2 separate regions of the Homo sapiens genome follow, and region 2 is linked to region 1. The links are contacts of gene promoters, found by promoter capture Hi-C in human tissues and cell types (Jung and others, 2019). All regions are on one chromosome and are shown on one strand. Each heading gives the region's core, a stretch centred on a gene start or on the middle of the fragment in contact. The rest is flanking DNA. Distances are from core to core; before and after follow the strand shown.

The links. The method cuts DNA at HindIII sites, captures the fragments that hold promoters and counts their contacts. A contact is called where the count stands out against the background at its distance.
Region 2: a contact is called between a fragment that was not itself captured here and the fragment with the promoter of MS4A10 in region 1, in 1 of the 25 tissues and cell types used here (pancreas).

The regions. Positions count from the first base shown.
Region 1 is chr11:60,780,752-60,788,500 of GRCh38, forward strand. It overlaps MS4A10 (membrane spanning 4-domains A10), which reads left to right and starts at 4,582. Exons shown (of 8, transcript NM_206893.4): 1 at 4,582-4,670. The HindIII fragment of the contact is 17,691 bases long and covers 588-7,749 here.
Region 2 is chr11:61,382,401-61,390,149 of GRCh38, forward strand. No RefSeq gene overlaps it. Among named protein-coding and RNA genes, the nearest start is that of TMEM216, 6.3 kb to the right of the region's middle. RefSeq lists a silencer at 3,264-3,423. The HindIII fragment of the contact is 9,589 bases long and covers 1-7,749 here.

The sequences.
Region 1 (7,749 bases), core at 3,332-5,831:
ATTTTCCTCACTGTCACTCAACCCATTGAAATCACTCTCTGTAAGGTTATTGCATTGACCTTGTCACCAAAATCAATAGGCTTTTAAAAATCCTTGTTTTAATAATAGCTCTCTCCATTTCTTAAATGTTGCCTACCCATAGATTTCCTCTGTGTACACTACCTACTCTCTACATGATCTCATCCACCACTTCAGGTTCATTTCATCTTTTATTCAGCAAGTGCTGATTGGGTGTGTGCTGTGTAAGCTCTGGAGACACCAGACATTAGCCAAGATCTCTGTTCTCATGGAGCTCACATTAGCCATCTATCACCATCCTGACAGTTTTCAAATCACTGTCTTCCACCCAGATCTCTTTTGCTGAGACAGCCTCAGCATCTACTTTCTTGTCTCACAAAAAGGAATTTACATCTTCTCTTCCAACTCAAGCCATTTCCCCTCCTGTGTTCCTGATGTCAGTTGACGTCCCTATAGACTTTGGGCCACCCAAGACTGAACCCAAGCATCATTCTTGGTTTCCCCTCTCTCTAAGCCACACAGAATCATCCTCCACTGATTCTCCTTGCTCTGGTTTCTCAACTGAGTCCACTCTCCTTATCCTCCTCCTTTGAGCCACATCACTTTTCACCTGCATCTTTGAACCACACCACCTTTGAACCACGTCACCCTTCACCTACATCAGGCGTCAGCCTCCTGCCACGTCCCCAGCTCTGAGCCTGCCCCATGCATCTCTTGACTAGATGACAGCCAGAGGGATTTTTCTAAAGTACAAAGTCATCATGTTACTGTTCTGCCTAAACTTATTCAGGCTCTCCTTTGCCCTTGGGCTAAAGTCCAAATGCTCTAGCAACACTTACAAAGCCCTGGAGATGTAGCAGTTCACCTCTCCAGCCCCATCCCTCCTCACCCTCCACTTACACTTGACCCCGAGCCATCCTGAGTCTCCGTGAGCTCCATCTGCCTGGAAGGCTGCTCTCTGCCTGCTTCCAACCCTCCTATTTGTCCTGCTTAGCTCCCAACCCCACTTCAGACCTTCATTTAGATACCACTTCCTCCAGGAAGCCTTATCTGGCCTCATCCCCCAACCCCTTCTAGATTAGGGGAACTCCTCCAGGCTCTCGCCACACCCACATCTCAGTATCACATCACTCACCCGTCCACAGCACAGTTACCTGTCTCCCTGTTCATCTTATTCAATGGACTTCATATTCTTTCCCTATTGCTGCTGTAACAAATTACCATGAACTTAGTGGCCTAACATAACACAGACTTATTATTAGACAGTTCTGAGGTCAGAGGTCCTAAAATCCAGGTGTCGGCAGGGCTGAGTTCCTTCTGGAGGCTCCAGGGAGGCCCCGCTTCCTTGCCTTTTCCAGCTTCTAGAGGCCACCTGCCTTGCTTGGCTTGGGACCTTGGCCTCCACCTGCCAAGCTCTTCCACTCACTCTGACCCTCTTGCCTCCCGCTTGGGAATACATTGGGCCCACTGAATAATCTATCCCTATCAACAACTTTGACTTAATCATCTGCAAAGCCCTTTTCACTGCATAAGGTAACGTATTCACAGATTCTAGGGATGTGGACATTGTTGAGGTGCCATTGCTCTGACTACCACAAATTCTGAGCTCCTCAAGGCCAGGGGCAGCCTCTTGCCCACTCCTGGATCCCCAGCATGTCACACAGCGCCTGGCCCAAGTAAGTGCTCATTAGCTGTTTTATCAATGAACGGATCAGTTAATGAACAAGGGTATCAGGGGGGTGGGGGGCTGTCTTCCTACTCAGCAAAAAAGCACTGGTCCTGGAAAAACACTCACCCCATGTTTGAGGAGCTAAAGTCGTGGGTGATGAACGGGTGCAAGGCAACCAATGACAGTGATTATTGGCCTCACGTGTCTCAGCATTACAGTGGGCAGGCAAGTGCCTTCAGAAGAAACAGGTCTCTCTCAAAGCTACTGGCTGCTGCTCAGCCTGGCCCCCTACCCCTCAGGGGAAGCCTGCATAGTCCAGCAGGTCTGAGAGGGGTGAGTGGCCTTTTGCCTGATTGTGTGTGTGACATCGAAGTCTATGCCACATTGAACATGCATGACAGCTGAGCACGAGCGACCCCGGAAGCACACAGCAACTAAAATAATTAGGCACGGCCACTGACACGTGTGAGGCGCTGCTTTTAAGCATTTTACATATTCTAACTCATTTAACCCTCCAGCAACTTGATGGGTACTATTATCCCCATTTTATAGAGGGGAAAACTGAGGCCCACCAAAGTCAAATAACTTGCCCAAGGTCACACAACATTAAGAGGTAGAATCAAGATTTGAACTCAGGCATCCCAGATGCAGAGTCAGCTCTGAAGTGCTATGCTGTGCTCAGCAAGTCAAAGTCAGTCAGTCCTGGCATCAGGGACTATCTGTACAGCCGCTGGCTCTGCCTCGCGCTTCCCTGTCCACCCTCAGCAGAGCGATGTGGAGAGAGAAGCCAGATGGAAAAGGAAGAGCCCAAGGCGGGATCTAGGGGTCGCTGGATCTGGGGGTCGCTGGATCTGGGGGTCACAGGATCTGGGGGTTGCTGGATCTGGGAGTTGTGGGATCTGAGGGTTGTTGGATCTGGGGGTTGTGGGATCTGGGGGTTGCTGGATCTGGGAGTTGTGGGATCTGGGGGTTGCTGGATCTGGGAGTTGTGGGATCTGGAGGTTGCTGGATCTGGGGTTTGTTGGATCTGGGGGTCGTGGGATCTGGGGGTTGCTGGATCTGGGGGTCACTGGATCGGGGGGGTCACTGGATCTGGGGTCATAGGATCTGGGAGTCACAGGATCTGGGGGTCACGGGATCTGGGGGTTGTGGGATCTGGGGGTCATGGGATCTGGGGGTCACAGGATCTGAGGGTTGTGGGATCTGGGGGTCCCTGGATCTGGGGGTTGTGGTACCTGGGGGTCGCTGGATCTGGGGTCACTGGATCTGGGGGTCATGGGATCTGGGGGTCACTGGAGCCCACTCCACACCTCCTCCACCAGAACAGCCTCACGGAAGACCTTCACACTTCCCAGAGCAGCACCGTGCTCATGGAAAGATCAGGGCACAAGATGTGGCAACTGATTCTGTCAGATGCAATTTGTGGGCCATGCCTGGATCCTGGATCCTGATTTGAACAAATCAAAAGTAACAAGACATTTGTGAGATAATCAGAAACTGAAGCTCCGACTAGTTATTTGATACCCGGTAAGTACCAAAAACTAGATAAGAACAGGTTTTTCTGACTCCTAGGGTTAAGCTTGTCCCCCACAACAGGGGTCCCCAACCCCCAGGCCATGGAGCTATACCAGTCTGTGGCCTGTTAGGAACCAGGCCTCACAGCAGAAGGTGAGGGGCAACAGGCAAGCATGACCTACCACCTGAGTGCCGCCTCCTGTCAGATCAGCCGCAGCAATAGATTCTCAAAGCAGAACGGGCCCTATTATGAATTGCACATGCAAGGGATCTAAGTGGTACCCTCATGAGAATCGAATGCCTGATGATCTGAGGTGGACTAATTTCATCCCAGAACCATCCCCCATCCCCACCCCGGCCCATGGAAAAATTGTCTTCCACGAAACTGGTCCCCAGTGCCAGAACGGTTGGGGACCACTGCTCTATGAAAGTAGTTTCTTTTTTCCTTTCCTCTTTTTTTTTTTTTTTTTTTTTTGAGACAGGGTCACACTGTGTTGCCCGGACTGAGGTGCAGTGGTGTGATCACAGCTCACTGGACTCAAGTGATGCTCCCACCTCAGCCTCTCGAGCAGCTGGAACCATAGACAGGGACCAAGACACCTGGCTCATTTTTGAATTTTTGAATTTTTGTAGAGATGAGGTCTCGCTATGTTGCCCAGGCTGGTCTCAAGCTCTTGGCTCAAGTGATCCTCCCACTTTGGTCTCCCAAAGAGCTGGGATTGCAGGCATGAGCCACCGCCCGGCCCTTTAAAAGACTAGTTTCCAAATGTTCAACAGAGCTCTGTGGGGCTGCAGGGTTAAACTCTGAGCGTAAATAGACCTCAGTGAGCACCAGGACTCGGTTTTAATTTTTTTGTTCTGATCATGTGGTCACACTTTTTTTTTAAAGAGTCCATATCTTTTAGAGATAAATACTAAAATGCTTACAAATAAAATGGGAAGATATCTGAGTTTTGCTTACTTCTGGGGGAGAATAAGATTGGCCAAGAGCTGCTGATGGTGGCTGTAGCTCGCGAATGGGCACAGGGGTGTCATGGAACCATTCTCTCTACTTTTGTGAGTGCTTGAAATTTTCCAGAATTAAAAGAACTCTTTCAAAAGGTTCAACTTCTTACTCCACTCCCAGGATCTAAGACGATTACAACCACTTTCACTCCATCAGTCATGCCCTGAAAACAGATTAAATTATCAACATTTCCCTTGCCAAAGGAAATTTACAACTGTCAAGGAGAGACATAAAGAAGGGCACTAAGATTTTCACCTGCCGGGGTTTGGCGGGAGGGGGAAGGACTTTGACAGCTTCCATGCAACCGGGGCATGAAGCAGGGCGTGGGTCCAGGAGGGAGAAGATCCAAAGTCGAATGTTGTAAAGATGTGCTGATTTCCCAGCGCTGTCTCTGGGGAGCTCCGGCAGCGCAAGAGGGCAAAGCACAGCTGGAAGCTCAGAGCTGCAGTCCCAGGTCCTGGGGTGAGTGGTCCCCCCATGGCAGGAACAGAGGGGAGTGATTTTGTGTTTCCATGTGGAGTTGGGGGGTTGCTCAGGTGTACAGACCTGGTCCCCCCTTGAAGCCAGGGGACCGGCCTCTTATACCCCTAGCCAATCAGTTGTTGGCTGTAGGGTTGGAGCGGTGTTACTTAAACTCCCAGAAGGGAGGAGATGTGAGCCTTTAGCAATGAACAATTATACCAGCTGGAGAATGGGTGGCCCACCCAGCAGAGGGGATCTGGGAAGTAGGGGGCACCGTCGGCCTCTCCCCTGCGGAGCCCCATCCTGCTGCCAGTTACTGACCCTTATTGCTGGAGGAGCCCCAGACACTTTTCTTGCAGTCTGGAAATGCATACACACAGAGAGACCAGTTCAAGAAAACAGAGCCCCAGGGAGGAGAAGGGACTTGTCGAGGGCCACGAGGGGGCAGGACTAGAATCCAGATTCTTGACTCCCTCCTTGGACGGAGGCCTCTGTTTCCTGCAGGCCTTCCAGCTGCTGGTGGGTGAGCTCTCTTTACACCAGGCACACTGTCTGGAAGCACCAGGAGGAGGCTGGTTCAGTACAGTCGTAGGTGGTTTTCTAACTGGCATTCACTGAAACGCTGATCCTCTAAGGCACCCCACCCCCAACACCAGCCTGCCTGTCACATGTTGTGACACTCTTGTCACTCAGCACCTCTCAATTCCTGCCTTTCTGTCCTTGACATGCATGCACATGCATGCACACACATGCACACACACACACACGCACACACACACACACACACACACCCTGAGAAGCTCTCTCTGTCCTCTAGGGCTCCACTGCACAGTCTGATGAGGGTCATATTATTCATGCCACGTTTCCTCTGCCTGCTCAGCCACAGACCTCCCATGGACACATCTTACTCACTCCTGCCTCGGTCCCTGCAGTGTCCAGTGCAGAAACTCCACAAACAAATCCACGAATGACAGTGTTGGATCTCAGATCACTAGCTCAATACACTCAGTGCCTTTCTTCCCTCACGACCCCCTACCCCCACCCCAGGGCCCCAGAGCTCTCACGGCCCTCTCCCCCTGTAAGCAGGATGGGGATGGAGGCAATAAACTCACCACTCCAGATGATAGGGACAGGGTGTATCATGTCTTAACCAAGAACCAGACGAGGACAAGGTGGAGCCTCGCTCTCACAGCCCTCTCCCCCTGTAAGCAGGATGCAGATGGAGGCAATAAACTCACCACTCCAGATGATAGGGATGGGGTGTACCATGTCTTAACCGAGAACCAGACGAGGACAAGGTGGAGCCTCACTGGTGGGATTCTAGACACGCAACAGGCCAGTGGCAACTGTGGCTGACATTTATTGCTATACGCCAGTCCCTGTCAGTTGCAGGCATTGTTTCAGCTACTCCTCACCACCTACCCCCTAGGGACAGGCAGTGGCACTCCCCATGAGAAGGTGAGGGGAGACTCAGATGCTGAGATGTAAAAAACCGGCCCAAGGTCAAAGCTCCGGGGAGCAGAGCCAGGACTTTGCACGGAGCACCCATTCTAGCTGACAACTTCCAGCGCTCAGGGCCGTGCCCACTCTGCTGCTTTGCTGGGGGGTTCTGGAGGGTCCTGCCCAGCTCTGTCCCTGTCCTCCCTCCACTCCCAGAACTGAAGGAACAACGAGAATATGTGTGGGACCCAGGCATCCCGTGGCCCTGTGCAGAGCGCTGAGGCCCTAGTGGCAGTGGGTTTCCCGTGGGATACCAAGCTGGCTGGGTCCGTGGTCCTGAGCTGGCTGAGGGGGCTGGGGTTGGGCGGGGAAAGGCTAAAAAAGTTCCTTTATGCACCAAACAGCCTGCTGCCTGCCCCCTCTCTGTCAGCACACTGTCACCTCCTAGCAGCCCTGCACAGGTCCTGGAAGTGGGCCAGGACAGCTGGGAATAAGTGTTCTAAGGAATCAGAGTTCATGCTCTTTGTCTTGGAAAGGCGTACGAGAGAGTCATAACAAACTTTTCCCCATGATGACTAAGGTCTGCCCTCTGCAACTCCTTCCTCTCCTGGTTGTATAAAATTCCTTGTAGCGGCTCTCTATCCCGTGAGAGAAGTATTATATTTAAAGTTGGAAGGGACCTTAGAGATCATCACTCAATTCCCATTCCCACTGTGATATGCACGTGAGCAAACCAAAAGCAGAGAAAAGGCCAAAAACCAGAGCCCAGGACCAGAAATTGAAACCTTCAAGGCCACTTTGCCCAAAAGCAGACCCCACAGAATACCAATTGCATAGAACCGTTAGACAATGAGAAAAAAAAGATCCTATGGCCAGCCGGGCGCAGTGGCTCACATCTGTAATCCTAGCACTTTCGGAGGCCAAGGTAGGCGGATCACCTGAGGTCGGGAGTTTGAGACCAGCCTGACCAACATGAAGAAACCCCATCTCTACTAAAAATACAAAATTAGCAGGGCGTGGTGGCAGGTGCCTGTAATCCCAGTTACTCAGGAGGCTGAGGCAGGAGAATCACTTGAACCCGGGAGGCGGAGGTTGCGGTGAGCCAAGATTACGCCACTACACTCCAGCCTGGGTGACAAGAGCGAAACTCCGTCTCAAAAATAGAAATAAATAAATAAATAAATAAATAAATAATAAAGATTATATGGCCAATTAAGTTTGGGAAATGCCCTTAATACTAAAACAGAGTGTGCCACTTGTAGAAAATCTCAGAGTCTTTAATATGAGAAAAAGGGAGAAGAGGCTAACCATGGTTTCTCAAACTTATTTGACCATGGAACCCTTTTACTGCAGATACATCAGGACCAATGTTCCATGGAACATACTTTGAGAAAGGTTATTCTGGATTCTTGAGTCCAACTCCCTGTTGGATATTTGAACCATTCCTACTGCCACAGCTCTCACAAGTGAATGTCTAGGTGGAGGTACAGCTCCAGTGCCCAGGCACTCACTATCTCCGTGGACAAGCAGTTCCATCCAAGGCAGCTCTACTAAGAAGTCCCTCTTCTTCTGTTCTTTGCAGTGGAGTCCAGGCCTGGGTCCAGGTATTGTCCTCCCAGGTGTGCAGAGTCTAGGTGAA
Region 2 (7,749 bases), core at 2,923-5,422, 600 kb after region 1:
ATATCGGAATTAACAAACAAGGATATGAAAGCATCAATGAAAATATTATCTCAAAGCTGGGCACAGTGGCTCACGCCTATAATCCCAGCACTTTGGGAGGCCCAGGCGGGCGGATCAGCTGAGATCAGGAGTTCAAGATCAGCCTGAACAATATGGTGAAACCCCGTCTCTACTAAAAATACAAAACTTAGCCGAGCGTGGTGGCATGTGCCTATAGTCCCAGCTACTCGGGAGCCTGAGGCGGGAGAATCGCTTGAACCCGGGAGGCAGAGGTTGTAGTAAGCTGAGATGGTACCACTGCACTCCAGCCTGGGCTATAGCGAGACTCCGTCTCAAAAAAAAAAAAAAAAAGAAAGAAAGAAAGAAAAGAAAATATTATCTCAGTAAATTAAAAGACAGGCAACCTCGGGCTGGGTGCAGTGGTTCATGCCTGTAATCCCAGCACTTTGGGAGGCCGAGGTGGGTGAATCACCTGAGGTCAGGAGTTCAGGATTACCTTGGCCAATATAGTGAAACCCCATCTCTACTAAAAATAAAACAAAATTTAAAAATTTAAAAAAAATGAAGCTGAAATAAAAACATTTTCAAATAAAAGAAAACTAAGAGAATTAGTGCTGCACTATAAGAAACATTAAGGCGGGGCACAGTGGCTCACACCTGTAATCCCAGCACTTTGGTAGGCCAAGGCAGGTGAATCACTTGAGGTCAGGAGTTCCAGACCAGCCTGACTAACATGGCAAAACCCTGTCTCTACTAAAAACACACAAAAAAATTAGCCAGGCATGGTGGCCCATGCCTGTAATCCCAGCTACTCGGGAGGCTGCAGAGGGAGAATCACTTGAACCCAGGAAGCAGAAGTTGCAGTGAGTCGAGATCACGCCACTGCACTCCAGCCTGAACTCTGTCTCAAAACAAACAAACAAACAAACAAACAAAAGATAGGCCAGGCACGGTGGCTCACGCCTGTAATTCCAGCATTTTGGGAGGCCGAAGCGGAACACCTGAGGTCAGGAGTTGGAGACCAGCCTGGCCAACATGGAGAAACCCTGTCTCTACTAAAAATACAAAAATTAGCTGGGTGTGGTGGCACATGCCTGTAATCCCAGCTACTCGGGAGGCTGAGGCAGGAAAATCGCTTGATCCCGGGAGGTGGAGTTTGCAGTGAGCTGAAACCTCGACACTGCACTCCAACCTGGGTGACAGAGTGAGACTCCATCTCAAAAAAAAAAAAAAAAAAAAAGATAGTATTTAGGTAAACATAAAGATTATTTTTAATTTTTTTCTATTTTTTCTTTCTAGTAAGATGAAGGTCTCACTATGTTGACCAGGCTGGTCTCAAACTCCTGGCCTCAAGCAACTCAAGCAATCATCCCACTTCAGCCTCCCAAAGTGCTGGGATTACAGGCATGTGCCACCACTCCTGTTTAATTTTTGTATTTCTAGTAGAGACGGGGTTTCACCATGTCGGCCAGAATGATGTCGAACTCCTGACCTCAACTGATCCGCCTGCCTCGGCCTCCCAAAATGCTGGGATTACAGGAGTGAGTCACTATGCCCAGCCGGTCCCAGCACTTAGGGAGGCTGAAGCAGGAGGATCACTTGAGACCAGGAGTTTGAGACCAGGCTGGACAATATAGCAAGACCTTGTCTCTATTAAAAAGAAAAAATTAGCTAGGCATGGTGACATGTGCCTGTAGTCCTAGCTACTTGGGAGGCTGAGGCAGAAGGATTGCTTGAGTCCAGGAGGTCAAGGCTGCAGTGAGCTATGACTGCAGCACTGCACTCCAGCCCTGGGCAACAGAGCAAGACCCTGTCTCAAAAAAATTAAAAAAAAAAATAGAAAAAGTAAAAAAGTATTAAACTATAATAAGAGAGGAATTATAAGGAAGTAAAGAGGGAAGTACCCAAGGAAGGGCAAACTCAGTAGGGTCCCCACCCCCAAGGCAGGGGTTCAGACTTCACTGCATGCCACTCACTGGGCAGTGTGAAGTTCACTGATTAGCCCAGGCCAGAGCTGTTTCACAGTTGCCAGGCAAGAAACAACCCTCCAGGCCAAAAGCAAGCTAAGGCTGGTAGGCAGGTGCTTAGAGCACATGGGGACACCACCTGCCCAGAGCACATAGCAACACCACCTGCCCAGAGCACATAGCACCCGCATTGGGAGGCCCCTAGGAAACAACCTTCCAGGTCGCAGGTGAGCCCCAGCTGTCAGACAGATGCATCAAAAGAGCTGGAATGCCCCATGTGCTTGGAGTGCATGGTGTCCACACAGGATATGGAGGATGGGAATCAACCCTCTGGGATGCAGAAGAACTCAGATTGGTGAGCAGACGCACAGAGGAAGTTGGGGCACAGCCTTGACCGCACGTTGTCCATGCCTGGAGGGCTTTGGGGAAAACCATCCATGGCATAGGTAAGCCAAGACTAGGGGGCAGGTGCACAGAGTTAGGGAGCTGCCCCAGGTGGAAGGCCTGGAGTAAGCGGCAACCATGACAAGGAGTCCACAGCAAGTTGGTCACGGGGCCTAGACCAGATCGGCAAAGTTGCCAAGGGAGTGCCGGCTTTGGGTGTGCAGCTGGAGTGGAACACCAGCAGATCTCCCAAGGCGTGCCCTGCTGATGGACGATGGAGCAAGGCCCCTAGCTGGAGTGCACTGGAACCAGAAGACAAGCCCTTTCCTTCCTGCAATGTCCTTCTAGCGTCCTCTGCTGACAAAGCCTAACATTGTACTCATTGTAGGGAGAAATGCTTCGAGTCTAGTTATCGCTTAACAGACACCGAAGGGTAGGTAAATAATGAAGCTGAGAGGCAAAAAATAGGTAACTGGCAGAAACCATTCTTCCAGCTACTCCACTACCATATGCACTCTTTACACAAATTTTGAACTCCCTTAGTAGCTACATTCCTACTAACAAGATATCTCCTCTCTAAAAGTGAAGTTCTCAGCCTTCCCCCAAATGATAAGACACACAGTCCAAACAGTCACTGTATCCATAGCTGGCTAGATTACTCCACAGATTTGTCGTGATCCCTATTACCTAAAAACTATTACCTAAAAACTATTACCTGTGTCTATTACCTAAAAACTAGATTGTAAAGTTGACCTCCAACAATTTGCACATAAAATAACAAAGGGAGGCAAAAGACATGGTCAGTACATACAAATAAACACATGCATGTAAGAAGCAAAGAAGAATATGCATCGCTGCTACAGTCCTCGTTTTTGTAACTGATCATTTTTGTAACTAATCACGGTCATAGTTGACATCCATGGTTTCCTTAGAAAAATCCGAAGGCTGCACACTGGAACCCGGGAGAGCCTCTTTGTTTCTGCAATAGCCCTCTAGTGCCCTCTGCTGACAAAGCTTAACACTGTACTCACTGTACGGGATAAATGCTTAGCGTCGATCCGGTTATCATGGAACAGAACAGGTACTGAGAGTGAATCTGGAGCTGAGGCAGTGTTGATAACTGCCATACTAGGAAACCACTAAATATTCAGAAATTAAATAAGGCTGGGCACGGTGGTTCACGCCTATACCATGTCACTCGAGCTCAGGAATTCCAGACCAGCTTGGGCAACATGGCAAAACCCCACCTCTACTAAAAATACAAAAATTAGCCAGGCGTGGTGGCACGCACCTGTAGCCCCAGTTACTCGGGAGGCTGATGCATGAGAATAGCTTGAGCCTGCAAGGCACAGGTGGCAGTGAGCTGAGATCGCACCATTGCACCGCAGCGTGGGCAACAGAGAGTCTGTCTTAAAATAAATAAAATAAAATAAAATAAAATAAAATAAAATAAAATAAAATAAAATAAAATAATAAATAAAATAAAATACACTTATAAATAGCCCATGGGTCAAAGAAGAAATCATAAGGGAAATTAGAAAACACTTTGAACCCAGCTGGGCGCAGTGGCTCATGCCTGTAGTCCCAGCACTTTGGGAGGCTGAGGCGGGTAGATCACTTGAGGTTAGGAGTTCAAGATCAGCCTGGGGGCAACATGGTGAAACCTCATCTCCACTAAAAATACAAAAATTATCTGGGTGTGGTGGCACACACCTGCAATCTCAGCTACTTGGGAGGCTAAGACAGGAGAATTCCTTTGAACCCAGGAGGTGGAGGCTGCAGTGAGCTGAGATCGCACCACTGCACTCCAGCCTGGGCAACAGAGTCAGACTCTGTCTCAAAAAACAAAAACAAAAACAAAACAAAACAAAACAAAAAACCTAAAGAAAGTAAGAAGAAGGAAATTATAAAGAGCAGAAATTTGTAAAATAGAAAACAAATTTTATACGATGAAGAAAAAGAAAGTCGAAAGCTGTTTTTAAAAAAATTAATAAGGCTGGGCACGGTGGCTCACACCTGCAATCCTAGCACTTTGGGAGGCCGAGGCGAGTGGATCATGAGGTCAGGAGTTCGAGACCAGCCTGGCCAACATGGTGAAACCCCATCTCTACTAAAAATACAAAAATTAGCCGGGCGCAGTGGTGGGCGCCTGTAATCCTAGCTACTCGGGAGGCTGAAGCAGGAGAACTGCTTGAACCCAGGAGGCGGAGGCTGCAGTGAGCCGAGATCACACCACTGCACTCTAGCCTGGGTGACAGAGCAAGACTCTGTCTCAAAAAAATAAAATAATAATAATAATAATAATAAGAAACCAGGCATGGTGGCTGATGCTTGTAATCCTAGCACTTTGGGAGGTCGAGGCAGGTGGACTGCCTGAGCTCACCAGTTCGAGACCAGCCTGGGCAACATGACAAAACCCTGTCTCTACTAAAAATACAAAAAAAAAAAGCCGGGAGCAGTGGCTCACACCTGTAATCCCAGCACTTTGGGAGGCTGAGGCGGGCAGATCATGAGGTCAGGAGATCGAGACCATCCTGGCTAACACGGTGAAACCCCGTCTCTACTAAAAATGCAAAAAAAATTAGCTGGGCATGGTGGCGGGTGCCTGTAGTCGGCTACTCGGGAGGCTGAGGCAGGAGAAGGGCGTGAACCTGGGAGGCGGAGCTTGCAGCCAGCCGAGATCGCACCACTTCACTCCAGCCTGGGCGACAGAGCAAGACTCCGTCTCAAAAAAAAAAAAAAAAAAATTAGCCAGGTGTGGTGGTGCATGCCTGTAGTCCCAGCTACTTAGGAGGCTGAGGCACGAGAATTGCTTGAGCCTGGGAGGCAGAGGTTGCAGTGAGCCAAGATCGTGCCACTGCACTGCAGCCTGGGCGATAGAGTGAGACCCTGTCTCATAAAAAAAAATAAAAAACAAAAATAAAACGTTAATAAAATTGATAAACACCTATCAAAACTATTGAAGAAAAAAATATGAAAGAAAAGGGACATCACTGCAGTTCTTACATCCATTAAGTAATATTTAAGGATTGCCTGGTGACTTTTTTAATTTTTAAAAATTAATTAGTTATTATTATTCTTTAGACAGAGTCTCGCTCTGTTGCCAGGCTGGAGTGCAGTGGCATGATCTTGGCTCACTGCAACCTCCACCTCCTGGGTTCTAGCGATTCTCCTGCCTCAGCCTCCCAAATAGCTGGGACTACAGGCATGCACCACCACACCTGGCTAATTTTTTTGTATTTTTAGCACAAATGGGGTTTCACCATGTTGGCCAAGCTGTCTTGAACTCCTGACCTCAAGTGATCCGCCTGCCTTGGCCTCCCAAAGTGCTGGGATTACAGGTATGAGCCACTGCGCCCAGCCTGACTACTGACTTATAATACAGAAAAAAAAAGAATTGAGGAATGTTATGAAAACCTTCACACCAATACATCTGGAAATGTATACAAAATGATTTACCCAAACCTTATTCAAGGTTTATGCAAACACAAATTCACCCAAACCTTACTCGAGAAGTAGAATATCTGAATGTTCTTATATATAGTACAGGGATTTCATTATTTTAAACTCCCCCCCACCAAAAAAAAAATTTAGGTTTAGATGGCTTCATCAGTGTATTCTTTCAAATACTTGAAGAAGAAATATTACCTAGCTTACACTATCTCTTCCGGAGAATAGAAAAAGAAGAAATACCTTTCGCTTTATTGGATGAAGCCACCTTAACCTTAATACCCACCCTTGACAAGGTCCTTGACAAAGTTAAATTACAGACCAATCTCTCTCATGATACATATGTAAAACCTGAACAAAATTAGCAAATGAAATCCAGTGACATATAAAAAGGATAACATATCTGTGTCAGGGGTCTCCAAGATCACACCCAGTTTGGATGATTTGCTATAAGGACTTATGGGACCCAGCATACAGGTGTATTCATGCCTCTGATCTATTACAGTGAAATACAAAGCAAGGTCAACAAAGGGAAAAGATACATGAGGCACAGTCAAGGAGAAACTAGCAGCATGCTTCCAAGAGGTCTATCTCAGGGGGAATCACACAAGACGTTCATCATTCCTCCAGCAACAAATTCTGATAACATATGTGCAATGTTGTCTACTAGGAAAGCTCACTTGAGACTCAGGGTCCAAGTTTTATTTTTTTTATTTTTATTTTTTTAAACAGTTATGGTTCACTGCAGCCTCTTCCCTCTACCTCTTGGGCTCAAGCAATCTTCCTGCCTCAGCCTCCGAAGTAACTGGGACTACAGGTGTGCACCACCATGCCTGGCTAAATTTTTTTGTTTGGGTAGAGACAGGGTCTCACTGTGTTGTCCAGGCTGGTCTTGAACTCCTGAGCTCTATTGATCCTCCTGCCTCAGCTTCCCAAAGTGCTGGGATTACAGGCATGAGCCACTGGACCCAGCCCCCAAGGTTTTTACTGGGAGCTGATCATGAAGGCACCCTCTGCCTAACATGTTTCAAAACTCCAGACTCTGAGAAGGAGAACAGGTATTTAGCATAAGCCACATTGTTTGTACAGTTTAGGCACTGTGAGCCACTTTAAACTGGTGGGAACACTACCAAAAGCCAAGTTCCCTTACGCCAGGCAAGGGTCAACCTTGCAGTTGGGCCTCTCCAAAGACAGCAGCCTCAGGTCTGCTATGTTAAGTTTTTTCTGTACAGTCTCATAAGCAAATGGGTTTTTTATTTTTTCCAGGAAGACATGGTTGGTCATACCTCTGAAAATCAATGTAATTCATATTAGCAGAATAAAGGAGAAAAATCATATAGTCCTCTCAACGGATTAAGAGAACACACTTAATAAAATATATCATAAGCCTTTTAGCAAACTAGGATAATAAGGGACTTTCTTAATCTGATAAAGAGTATCTACAAAAAAAATCTATAGCCACCATATTAATGGTGAGATATTGAACGCTTCCCCTGAGGTTAGGAACAAGACAAGACTATCCATCATCACCACTTATAGTCAACATTACACTGCCAGTCCTGGCCAGTGCAATAAGGCAAGAAAAAGAAATTGAAGGTATAGAGATTGAGAAGGAAGTAAAAATGTCTTTATTTACTGATGATGTGATCATGTACATAACAAGCCTCCTAGAAATAATCAATTTAGCAAGGGCACTGGCTGTTGGGACAGTCTTGCATGGGTCCTAAGCATCCCTGCATGTTCTTACTATGTCAAACCAGAAAGTCTGTCTCCTGATACTGAGCACAGAAGCAATTAAGTAGACCAAAGTGACTATAGTGTGATGATAGTATAATTTCTCCCTCCCCAGTGGAAAGGGCCTGGCTTTATTTGCTGCTTGCTAAAAAGGGTACTGAGCCTTTGGCTCTGGGCTCCACCAAGCTGTGGCATAACTCCTTGAGTGCAGCAC